Linked DNA regions of Homo sapiens: region 2 is linked to region 1. Evidence: promoter capture Hi-C in human tissues and cell types (Jung and others, 2019). All regions are on one chromosome and are shown on one strand. Each heading gives the region's core, a stretch centred on a gene start or on the middle of the fragment in contact. The rest is flanking DNA. Distances are from core to core; before and after follow the strand shown. Region 1 holds the start of FMNL2 (formin like 2). Region 2 has its middle 340 kb from the start of RPRM.

Region 1 (6,441 bases), core at 1,801-4,300:
TACAAGAAAGTTGAACTGGTATCAATAATGCCAACACAATTTCCATTGCCCTCCACATACATACTTAAAAATCTGCCACTTAAAACTTGTCCTTCAAGATTGATGTCCACAATTAAATGGTTTGAACTGATTTCTTAAGCAACTCATGAAGAAAAGCAAAGTTGAGATTATCACACACACAACTCCAGAAAAAAAAAAAAAACAAGAGAAATCACCAACACTGCGCACTTCTATTGGCCCACGGAGATGATCTGGAAGGTTTCAACTCCTCTCACAGATTGTCAAAGAGCAAGTGGAGCTGACCTGGGACAAGGAACGCATCAATGGTCCAAATGCGTCCCTAGGAAGAGGGTTCCCAAGCTGACCTGGTCCCCCAAAAGCTTTGTCTCTACTCAATAAAAGGTCAGCCTGGTATTGTTTTTGTTTCTTGATTGAGAGGCTTAGAATATTGTAAACAATTTTAAAAGGAATTGCACCCAGTAACTGCGACACACAGTAGTGTAAAAGTAGCCACAACAACCCTGCCCCAAGAAGCTTGGGATGTACAATCATAATTGTCTAAATACTATATTTGCAACTGCTAGCCTTAACAAGAACACAAATCCACCATGTTAATGATGGGACATTATTTTTCTAAAGATTAATTCACACCATGTGTTATTAATCAGCAGGGTAAATGAAAGCTCAAGCAAAAAAAAATGCTATCCTAGTCAAGCAGAACTTAATTGCATTATTGTTATTATTATGGCTGCTGCACTGGTTTCCCTGTGTCACTGGCTCCTCCACCACAAGTATTCAGACACACACACACACACACACACACACACACACAGAGCACCACAGCATGGATGGAAAAACAAAAAAGCCAGAGCCAGGAGGAAAAAAAGCCAGAGCCAGGAGGTAAGAACCATATGTCTAGTAGGAAGAGGGTTTTGAAGAAAAACGTTTGTCTCTGGAAAAGCAGGTCAAGTATGCACCCAGGCCGCCTTGAGAGTTATGCCTAGGCCGTTTCATTTCAGTGTCCCATCTTGCACAACGGTGGGAGCAGCTGTGGGAGATCACAGGAGATGCAAAGCAACACAAGCAACCTCATCTGTCTCCCCGACGGCCACACCAGAGTTTCCAGGTGGCGGGAGAGAGAGCTCAGTTCTCCCAAAGAGCACACAGCTAACCTGCCATCCAGAACATCACTTCCCATACCAAACCATTCCTTTTTCAAGGCCTGAAGGCAGGCAATTTGAACGTCCTGTAGCTGAGCACACCTCAGAAAACCGATTTTTGATCTAGAACTCGAGTCCTCTGCCAAAGTTCTAAGTTTTCATGAAAACAAAAGAAGAAAAGAAAACCCGCAGGCAGGCACAATCGTTGGCTGCCCGGATCACGAGTTTCCCTTGCTGCCTAGTCTTGTGGAGTTTAGAGGTAACCAACTAGGAAAAGAGAAGTGTCCAAGTGTCAGGAGTAGGAATGAGCCCAATCTCGCCTGTGTGTGTCCCTCCCAACATCCCTTAGAAGAGGCTGGGACACTAAAACTGGTAGTCTGGGGGACCAACAGCAGTCCAGATCCTGGCTGGGGCAAGCCGCCACACCCTCTGCAGCTCACAGCACAAGCCTCGGCTGGGAGGGGCCCAGACACTGTCCCAGCAGGAAAGGGAGAAAGAGGGGAGTTTTCAGAGTCCTGGATTTGAGGAGCTGGAAAGCTGGGAGAAGCGGAATGCAGGAGGGAGCGGGGGACCTGGCTGGGCGTGCAAGAGGAGGGGAGGGGTCGCCCGTGCAGTCAGGACAGCTCGCAACACGTCCCCGCAAAACTCCACATTTTTGTGGTTTAAGATTTAAGTCTAGAGGGAACGCGCTGAGGTTCTCCCCGGCCTGGGTTTCAGATGCCCCTGCTCCTCGCCAAGGGCCGGGGCGCCGCACTGCTGTGGGTCTCCGCTTTCCCTTTCGGGGAAGCTCCCCTTGGCCAAGCCGCGACGTGAGCCCTCCAAGTTCGCCTCCGCTCACCGCCCGGCGCGGCGCCCGCGGCCGGCCACATGCGCCCCATCTGCCGGGGACTTCGCAGGTCCCGGGCTGGCCGCCCGAGGGATGGTCCGCAGGGGCTCAGGGTGTTTTGTTTTGTTTTGTTTTGTTTTGTTTTTTTTAAAAAAAAAGCCTAAGCGGCTCGCCACCTCCTCCTCCCAGCCCGCGCCACCTTCTCTTCACGCCCACGCCGCACCTCCCGGGCACACGCGCCGTGAGGTGCCTCTCCAGCCAGACAATGGGTTCGAGGCTGGTTGGGCAGCCGGCCCTGAGCCCCCATCCCCATCCCGGGACCCCGAGAGACTGAGCGCGGGGGACTGCCAGGGGGGTGAAGAGGAGTGCTGGGGGGCCACAAAGGGGAAAGCGGGAGCCTCCCCCTCGGGAATGGAGGCTCGCTCCCGGCACGGGGTGAAGGGGAGGGGCGGGGGTCAGCTGCGCCGCCCGGCCCGGGGCCCCGGGTCCCCGCGCCCGACCGCCGCCGCGCACTTACCAGCACGATGGCAAATCGCTCCTCCAGTTCACCTGGCTCTGGCATCGGCAGCTTCAAAGGCACGTTGTGCGCCCTGAAATCGGTCTGCTGCGAATCCATGCTCCCTGCGTTGCCCATGTCGGCGGCGCGCCGGGGCCGGGGGCTGCTCCGGGCCCCTAGCGTGCGCGTCGGAAATCAGAACAGCTCCCGGCGGTCGGCTGCCGCCCGCAGGCGCGACCTGCCCGGCTCCCCGCCCTCCGCCGCGCCCAGGCGGGTGTGCGGCGCGCACCGCTCCCTAGCAGCGCTCCAAGCCGAGCCGCCCCCCGGCCTCCCTCATGCTCTCCGCCGCCCCAGCGCGGCCCCGGCCTCTTTTCCTCGGGAGGGGTAGTTGGGGCGCTGGGCGCCTATGTGCATGGTGCTCCGCTGGCACACCGCCCCCTGCCAGAGATCGCGGCCCCCGGCGCGTGGTCCCTCCTACTCGGCCTTCTGCCGGGCCCGCGGCCGCCGCTGACACTTCCAGCCCTAGCCGGCCACGGCTGCGCCTGCCTGGCTAGCACCTGGAGCAGACAAATGCAGCTCCGCGCTCCCCTACACAATGCCACCTCTCGCCCGGCGCCCGGCCCCCGCCCCCGGCCCGGCTCCGCCCACTCGCCCCGCGGACTGCCGGGACGCGTAGTTTCTCTCCAAAGTGTCCGCGCGCAGAAACCACGCCTGCTCTAGAGCGCCAGGCCGGGTTGGGACCATTTGCAGCAAAGGCGATCCGTAGTCTCTGGAGATAGCATATTGTCACTTTTGACCCTCCTCACCCCAACAGTGGAATACTTACATCGTGTATATCATGTTGACACTTGGTAGGCGGGTCTGACCATGACGGAATCGAATCAATGAATGAAGGAATGCATGCCTTCTGATTAAAATTCAGAAAATCGTTGCTGTTTTTAAAAGATCTAGTTCAGTAAGGAACTTCGAAAGCACTGGCAAAGTTCTGTTTCATAAACGGGGGGGTGGGTCCATGGGTGCTTGTTTATCGTTCTTTCTTCCATATATATGTTCTTTGGTGTGATTGAAATGTTTTATAAACAGATGTATAATTTATGGGTATATATAGTCAGACCCTAGGAGCTAGGTAAGGATTCAATTCAATTTAAAAAAAAAACCTGTCAAACACCTATTATGTATGGGATATTGTGTTCCTTGGTGGGAGAAAAAAGAGATTTGCCCTGCGCTGGAATACTTGCCAATCTAGTGAAGGAAAAAATGTACACACCCATATTTCATGTGAGATGGATATAATGATAGAGTGTTCTGGGAGACTTTGGGATGATCTTTGGCTGCAGCTCTCTTATTCCTTCACAGCAGTCTTGAGCAAGGTGTCTTACAGAAAAGATTGGACCTGACTCTGTCCTCTGGGGTGTATTTCAGACTATAACTACCCGTTCTGAAACCTCGGAAATAGAAATAGCCTTATAAGAGACTTTAGCCAACTGCTCATGTGAATGTTAAGGGCATACATCTGGTTGACTTGTGGCTGAACTTCTGCAGTTAGTCCTTTCTTAGTTTAAAGCAGTGTTTCTTAATCCTAGATGTGTATCAGATTCGCTTGGGAAGCTTTTTGTTAAAACTACACACACCTTGGGCTCTGCGTATTATCAGAATCTCCCTAAGCTGAGAGCCGAAGCCTGGGCCGGTGTATTTTCAACAAGCTCCCCAGGTGATTTTGATATGCAGGTAAGGTTGTTATCCTTTTAGTAAATAGCAAGTGTTTCTGGACAAGGTAGTACACCAAGATTCAATCAAGGACATTTCATTCATCTTTATAAACTTCAAGATACTTTAAACATAGTAGACGCCCAAGAACTATTTGTGGAATTGACAAGTGACTTTTTCCAAAAGCATATGACACAAATACACACAAATACATCATGTATGTTCTATTAAACCACTTCTAGTCTTTAAAGAATGGAGACAGTATAAATAAATTCAACTTAAAATTCTGAATAACTGTAACCTGTATTTCTAAAGCAGTGTTGTATCAAAGTTAATAGCAAATGTGTTACTGATCTGAGAGAAAAGCAGGGCGGTTTAGATACACACACACTCCAAACTAATGAAAATGAGAGAGAAAGAAAGCAGTTCGGACCAGGTGAAACATTTCTGACCCACAAATGTATTTATTTCCTTGTAATCTCTAGACATATACTTTGGATCTGATTGACTCACAAAATCAGCCCACCCAGAGGGTTGCCCATCTGGATAAAAAAGGCTGGAATTCTTTTCTGCAGTTGAGAAAGCCTTTTTGATTACATTTATGTCTCCCTGCGGCTATATTTCTGCCAGTAACCAAGACCTTTTTCTCCCCTTACGTCTTATCACATCTAGTCTCTCTCATAAGCTCACACTTCGAGGGAAGCCAAGGAAAAAGTGTGCAAATCTATGAACCAAAAGAACTTTCCTGCCATTTCAATGTTTGGAATCTCTAATATTTGGTTGTTATTTGTGATTATTAAGAGGAGAAATAAACACTCCATAGGCTTGTACAATTTCTATAAGAATCCATCAAAATCTTAGGAAATTCTTTGCGGGGAGACGGCATGGAGGGAAAGGAAAGAAAAGACATTTCTATTACCTTAATTGTAGCACTCTTCCTCCCCACAGAATTAAAATCAAGCAATCATTTAAAAATGTATATTCCATTTATTATTATTATTATATATGATTTGTTACAGCTCATGTGCAAAATATTGGCAAAAAAGAAAATGTCTGGGCCGGGCATAGTGGCTCACACCTGTAAGCCCAGCAGTTTGGGAGGCCAAGGCAGGAGTATTGCTTGAGCCCAGGAGTTTAAGACCAGCCTGGCAACATGGAGAAACTCCATCTCTAAGAAAAATGCAAAATTATTAAGAGACAAAAATGGCGAAGTATGATCTTCCAGGTACACTCCACTGGAAAAAAAAAGAAAAGAAAAAGAAAGCCAGTTGTATGGGCATGCATACAACTTCCTAAACACACTGTGTGTGCTCAATTCCCCAGGGTAAGAAGAGCACCATGCATGCAGAACGCCTACCCTAAGGGAAGAATCATGGGAAAGAGAGATGGGATCTCACTGTTGCCCAGGCTGGTCTCAAATTCCTGGCTGCCAGCTATCCTCCTGCCTTGGCCTCCCAAAGTGTTGGGTTTACAGGTGTGAGCCACTGTGCCAGTTTGATATTCTTTATAACAAAGCCTGCAAGATTTCTTCCCATACAGAATTTTCTGAAGACAACAAAGAAGCTAATTATTAATAATTGGATGCATACTATGAGATGAGAATTATATACCTTCTTCTAGACTGTCAACTTAGAACAGAATTCAGAAAACTATGCCTGTAAACCAAATCCATTCATCTGCCTACTCTTATAAATAGTTTTATCGGAACACAGTAAAACCATTTATTTACCTACTATCTATAGCTGCTTTTGCACTGCAAGGATGGAGTTGAGTTGATATGACATAGACCATATGGCCCTCAAAGCCTGAAGTTTTTACTATCAGGCCCTTTACAGAAAATGTTTGCTGATCCCTGACTCAGAAGATACTATATTTTGCAAATCGTAAGTACTATAAAGTGATATTTTTACCTATTATCTATGTGATGTAACAAAACTACCTTTAAAACCTAATGGCTTAAAATGTTTAAAAATATGCAAAAATTTTTTTAAATTTTTGGTGTGTGACATCCACCTGTCTTCCTAGCTGCTGCTAGGGAGGCTGAGGTGGAAGGATTGCTTGAGCCTGGGTGGTTGAGGCTGCAGTGAGCCATAGGTGTGCCACTCTACTCCAGCCTGGGCAACAGAGCAAAATCAAGGTCCTATCTTAAAAAGAAAGAAAAAAAGAAAAATGTCTATTAAAACTGTACTTAGCTTCCAGGGACACTGAAATGTTAGAACATTTATCTTCTATGTGCATTTCCAAGCTATGCC
Region 2 (6,441 bases), core at 1,025-3,524, 810 kb before region 1:
CATAAAAGACTGGTGTTTGTTTGCCTTGGAGTAAATTCAGGGAGAGGAAGCATGGTGCAATGGACATAGGTCCTGATGGAGAAAAGAAGGAAGATCTAATATTGGCTCTGCTACTAATTCACTCTGTAAGCTCAGGAAATTCCCTTCATCTCAGAAACCCAGTGAGTTTCCCAAGACATGAAGCTAAATACACCTCACATTCTCCTCTGGGCCATAAAAAATAGTTGGAACATGATGAGTGTGGCTCCTTCCTGCTATGTTTATTATGTTGAGTTCCAGAAATCTGATCCTGGGAATCACCTAGAGAGATAGATTTTAATAGTTCGAGGTCATGCTAGTCCATGGATCCTCATTCACTATTATGTATACAATACTATCCTTCATGGCCACAGATTTCCCCAAACTCAGAGCACATATGCCCATAATGGATTAGGTTTCAGCCTCTGAGCATTTAACTTTTTACACATTCCAAGTTTAGAGTAACTGCACTGGGAGCCATCTGCCACCAAGCATCTGGTTGGACTTGGACCTAATCCATCTCTGCCAGGTGCCTGATAGTCACACACTCTGAAAACCCAATGCCAAAATTATATGTGAATCAAAGACCTGGGGTTCCAAAATGATCCAATTAAGAAGTATTTTTAGAATTTGGCTTAATTTTTCAAGGCTTCAACTTTCAGGATTATTATTATATAATCAGCAACCTTTGAAATGAAATCCAACTAGGTATATTTTTTAAACTAGACCATTTCTGGTAAGTTTGTTAATGTGATTAAAATGTACATGGCTATACATGTTTTCAGAATTAATACAATTTTTAAACTTCTTTTTCGGCATTATAGTATTCATAGATGTTTGGCTAAAATTAGTAGGTAATTGGGAAATTTTGCTTTGTTCTATTTTGTTCTAACGACCAAATATATGAACTATTGCATCCTACCTTTCAAATTGCTATGTAAGAAACTGAAAGTCACCAATCCATACACTTATATATATGCTCAGCACCATAATAGATGACAAATTTTTTCATAGATAGGATTTTAAGTTTTGAGGAATAAAACCATGCCTTTCACTTCTTCATATCTACAGTGTGCTAAATATATAGCAAGTATTTATTGAGTAATTTATAAAGTAAACATTAGTTTTATCATCTAGTGACTATCATTAATTATAAGAATAATGGCTAGTACATATTATGCACTATTTGTCAGACATTATGATAAGCATACTTTATATCATTTTTTGATAATTGTATTAGAAAAATCATGCATATAATTTCTAATATAACCCCTCTTATAAGCAAGTGAAGATCAGAGAGGTTAAGAAAACTTCCCGAGTTTTCTTAACTCGGCAAGAAACTGGTAACTTTGAGTCCCACACTCAGATCTGTCAGACTTCAGAGCCCATTGCCTTAATTACTGCTTTTCCCCAGACATGAACATTTTCCTCTTCTAGTCTTCTATTATCAGTAGGCTTTGTAGGAGAGGATTGTTTCGTATCCAAGAGCAGACCATGAGTTTGTATCTTAAATTGTGTATGATGATTATGCCAGTCACTTCCTGAGAACCAATTATTCTTTCTTCCTCCTATCTTGGCATACCAGACTTACTTCTCTTCTATTATGGATAACTTGAGTGTTCCAGTGCTCAAATACACTTCTGGAGTTCTCTACAGAATCAGAGGAGCCACTTACCTAATGACAAATTAGGACACATTATTTAGAGCCCAAGAAGACTTAAGAAGGTTGCATAGGAGTAAAGTGTTTGCAGAATATTCAAAAAGCATCTTAGAGATTATCAAGTTCAACTTTCTTGTTCTACATATCCAGGCTCCTGAGGTGAAGGGAATTTCCTGAGCTTACACAGCTAATTAGTAGCAGAACCAATACTAGATCTCCATTCTCCTTTCCTTCAGGACCTGCTTCCATTGCACCATATTCCCTTCTCTCTGAATTACTTCAAGGCAAATAAACACCAGTCTTTCATGCAGGGTGATCCAAGGATTTTTCCAATGACCCTTCTTTCCATGGAGCTTTCTAAAAATGGAGAAAAGAATTATTTATAGCCCTTATTTCAAGGTGCTTTTCAAATATCCAATTATCCAATGACCCATGAGAGCTAGAGGTGGCAAAGGACAGTGGACTTGGCTGCGTATTTCGTACGCATTCATGTGATGACCGAAACTCCAGTGCTTAGACAATGAATGCCTAGGGTGAGGATGCTAAGAAATGAAGGCAAACATCTATGCCTGTCATTTAAAGATACGCTGAGGGCAGAAAAAAATACTTGAAAAGCTTTTAAGCCAGTAGAGTTGATAACAAAGTGTTTGATGTCTAAATAATATCAGCAAACTTTGCAAGAGTTGTCTGGGGCAGATTTTCTGTTTCACTCCGTTTTTTAAAGTAATCTTTTGGGCTTTCTAAATGATACAGCACAGGAGAAAACAATTCTAAGTTGTGCAAGAGACTTCAACTAGTAACATTTGTAATATAGTCCACAAGTCTTAAAAATGTTTCCATCTACCAAATTAAACTATTTCCATCTGGCAGACTTTGCTACTTGCTTTGCAAGATGAATGAAGCTGAAAGGACTATGGCTACTTTTCAAGGTTTCAATTCAATGCAGGCAGTATTTTCATGCCCAGGTCTAACTAGGTTTCACTGCTCTGAGACTACAGCACCACAGTTATTATAGCTCAAAGAGAAAGATTAACTGCTCTGGAAGGAAACAGGCAGGATGAAATTACAATCATGGACCCTAGTATCTGGCATCAGGTATTAATGGGCATGAGCCAGAGAGTTCTTGCAAAAGAAAGGATAGAAGGAGGCATAAACAAAAGCACAGAAATTAGGGTGTATATTTTTTCCTTTTTAAAAAAAGTTTCCCAATTTTAGTCATTTTGCAAAAGAGAAATTACCATTAGAGACATGTACATTCGACCTGCCTTATGCTTGACATATCGTTAATGAGTGGAGCGATGATAACAAGAGTCTTGGGCTGGGAGCCTGCACCAGAAGTAGCCTAAAAATGCCAGCTGTCCAGGTACCTTCCTTGTTGGTGTGGTTCTGGGATCACTTGCACACTTTTTCAGGCACCAATGATTTCCTTTATCATTGCTGGGATTACCTCTCCATTCACACCTTTGAAGCTTCTCTTCATTGCCCATTATCTCTTCTCCTTTTCACCAACTGGCAGTATATTCTCCTTGGGAAGTTGAACCCCTGTCTGAGCTACTGCTCCACAGCCTGCAAAACTGCATAATTACAAGGACCCACCATGTTAACATCATTCCTTCCAGTTCTAAGTGGGCCTCTAGAATACCTCCCACCTACCGTTTTCTGCTTTTGATTTCATATCTCCTAACATGAGCTCAACAAGACAAAGCTTTGGGAATTGGCCCTTGTCAGGCTAACTTCACTAATTTTTCATAGGACTTCTTGTCAATCTTCCCATTTCCATACATAACACCACAATAAAGGCAAAGAAAGCTTACAATATCCCTAGGCCTACAAACCTCCATTTCATTTATCGATCTCTCTCTCTCTCTTGCTCTTGCTCTCGGTCTCACTTTCTCTCTCTCACGCTCATTCTCTCATTTTTCTAAAATTGGGACATATTATTCCCAGGTATTGGGCTAAAAGATAATATACGTTATACCACAGTAGAACATCCTAAATCATCAGCCTGTTTTCCTGAACTGAGCCTGACCATTTAAACCTTTTATCATTCCAAGGTAAGCTCTCTGCTCATTAGGACATTACTTGATATGTTTAGAAATTGCTCTTTTTCTCTACCTTCCTCCATGTGTTTATCATCTTCAATTACTTCCAGCAATCCCACTGGGCACTGGGCAAATAAAACTCCCTGCGGCTTTCCCAAACATGCCCCAAGGTGCCAGAATTCCAGCAGTGTTAACATTAAGTAGCCACTTCCCCTCCAGGGGTTTTGCTCTGTATGTGAAGTCACCAAATGCATAATCTCTCACAATGAATTAAGCACCACTACTATGGCAGAATTGATGAACTGGCTGTACAGTGTATTTTGGTCATAAAGACCGATAGTTTAGGTACAAAGAATTCAGCAGTTCGTGAGAAATTACATTTTTCCCATCATAGCAAAAATAACGCTTCATGATGTCTCTCTCAACCCAACCACAGTAGCCTTTATTATTACTATCCATCATCTGGAAGCTTATTCGTTCCTAAATTGTATTGCTTGATATTTTTGGTTCATTAATTTATTGAGGACATGTTACTAAGCATGTACCACAATAAGATACTATTCAAATGTCTGATTCAAACCCTGGCTCTGATGTTTACTACCTTACTCTTAGGTTGTTCTAATGATTAACAGAGAAAATAGGCTTAAAAATTGTAAAGATTAAATGCATAGCTAGATGACTTCTATAATGATGGTATGGGGAGCTCTGAGACCCTCTCCCAGCAAAACAGTCGTAACTAGTGGGAAGAAAAAGAAAACACACCTTCAACCTACCAAACAGCAAGAGACTGTGGCAGCAAAAGTCTCTTCCTCACCACACCCAGCTCTGCATGATGAAGCTCCACTCCAGGTAGGTAGAACCAAGAACACAGGGCTCTGTCTTCTCCCAGCTCCCAGTTGAGAACTGCAGCATCTCCCCACCTCACTATCCACCATCTGTATTGCAGAGGTTTTAATACTAGACAAAAACAGCTGAGAAGTCTGGAGGCCTCTTCCTCTACCCTGCCCCAACTCACGGGGTGGAAGCTCTACCTAAGCTTATAGGCCTTTAATCTTAGGCCTAGCCCACCCTTATCTCTGCTCATTCATAGGGCAGAGGTTCCACACAAGGACAGACAAGTTGAGAAGGCCAGTGGTGGCTGCCCCAGCCCAGCATCCTGCTTGTGGAACCCAGATGTCACTCCAACACAAGTGGCCATATATCCATACTATGGAATATTATTCAGCAATTTAAAAAGAAAATAAAAAACTGCTATCTGCTACAACAGGGATGAATCTAGAAAACATTATGCTCTTCCAGGTGGAAAAAGCCAGTCACAAAAGACCACATATTTCCTGATTTTACATATGAAATGTCAAGAATAAACAAATCTACAGATACAGAAAGATTAATGGTTCTCTTTGACAGGGGATGGACAGAGTGGTAGAATGGACAGCAACTGCTTATGAGTATGGATTTTTGGGGGAGCTGATGAAATTTTCCAAAATCAGATCATGGGGATGATTGCACAACTCTGTAAAAATACTGAAAGGTGTTGAATTAAACACTTTAAATTGGTAAATTATATTTCAGGCCATTTTAAACAATTATGTATATGAAGCATTAATTCATATCCACCTTAGGTATTCAATGAATGCTATTCCCTTTCTGTTTTCTTTCGGTGAATTCAATGAAAATGCAAAAATGAAGAAGTGCATCTTAGTTGGGTATTCAGCTTCCCTTGGTAAGAGAAAAGTTACTTGAGGGCAAAGTTCCTTGTGGTGGTTAACATATGTTTTACATAAAAGGCACTCATTATATTAACATTTGTAAAACTCTGAGTTTTTCAACTTGGAGAGCACTGTAAAACAGGGATTAACAGACATAGATTCTGGGGTCCTACAACCTAGACTCAAGCCATAAGATTAAAGATTCAAATCTCAGAGTTAGTCCTGCTCAATTTGAATCCTGGACTTTAGTTAAATTATTAACCTTTCCCTGTTTCAGTTTCTTCACCTTTTATGAAAATACATTTATATGCATTCATTTGCTCACATTTTCTCTATAAAGACAACCTGTCCTTTGTTGTATACAACCTTTGGAATCCTTCCTTTCTCCAAGGTCATCTCAAGACCTGACTCCTCTGTGAAGTCTCTGCCAATTCCACCTTCCAGGCCAGTTAACTTATCGGGTTCTCGTGGGAATGGGAAATGAAATAACATTGTGAAGGACCTGGAATAGTGCTTGGCATACATTATGTGCTCAAAAAATATTAGCTGTAATGTTAATGACTATTATCATTTCCTTCCGTGATAAATAGTTTTTGGTTGTATTGTTTACTTCAAATCTGGCGTAACAAATCTTAAGGAATGGATGGTAAGATTACCACATCATCAAATGCCAGACCTGATGTCCTCTCTGCTCACTTTTCCACCCTATTGCTTTTAAGGGCTGGTGGGAGAATAAAGAAGTTTGTAAGTGGAGGAAAATAAATAGCTAAGAACCTCTTCTAAACATGATCTGGTCACTCCTATTTATGAGAGCTTCCCAAACTAAAGATGATAGTCATTATAGTTAACTATGGAGCAACATTCTGTATCCTTTATTATATTCAATAATCTCAAATACATTACTCAAGCAATTACTCCCTTCACGCATAAAACAAATCCACACTAAAAGCATGCCAAGACCTCCTGGCATTATACCTGATTATCCCCCCTCTCCCTGGCAGTACAGCATTGA

The links. The method cuts DNA at HindIII sites, captures the fragments that hold promoters and counts their contacts. A contact is called where the count stands out against the background at its distance.
Region 2: a fragment that was not itself captured here is called in contact with the fragment with the promoter of FMNL2 in region 1 in 1 of the 25 tissues and cell types used here (aorta).

What each region holds. Positions count from the first base shown.
Region 1 is chr2:152,331,783-152,338,223 of GRCh38, reverse strand. FMNL2 (formin like 2) reads right to left here and starts at 3,050. Exons shown (of 26, transcript NM_052905.4): 1 at 2,504-3,050. The coding sequence starts at 2,620. RefSeq lists silencers at 1,991-2,090, 2,601-3,250. The HindIII fragment of the contact is 5,547 bases long and covers 1-5,293 here.
Region 2 is chr2:153,139,726-153,146,166 of GRCh38, reverse strand. It overlaps a transcript of GALNT13 not described here. Among named protein-coding and RNA genes, the nearest start is that of RPRM, 340 kb to the left of the region's middle. The HindIII fragment of the contact is 4,398 bases long and covers 76-4,473 here.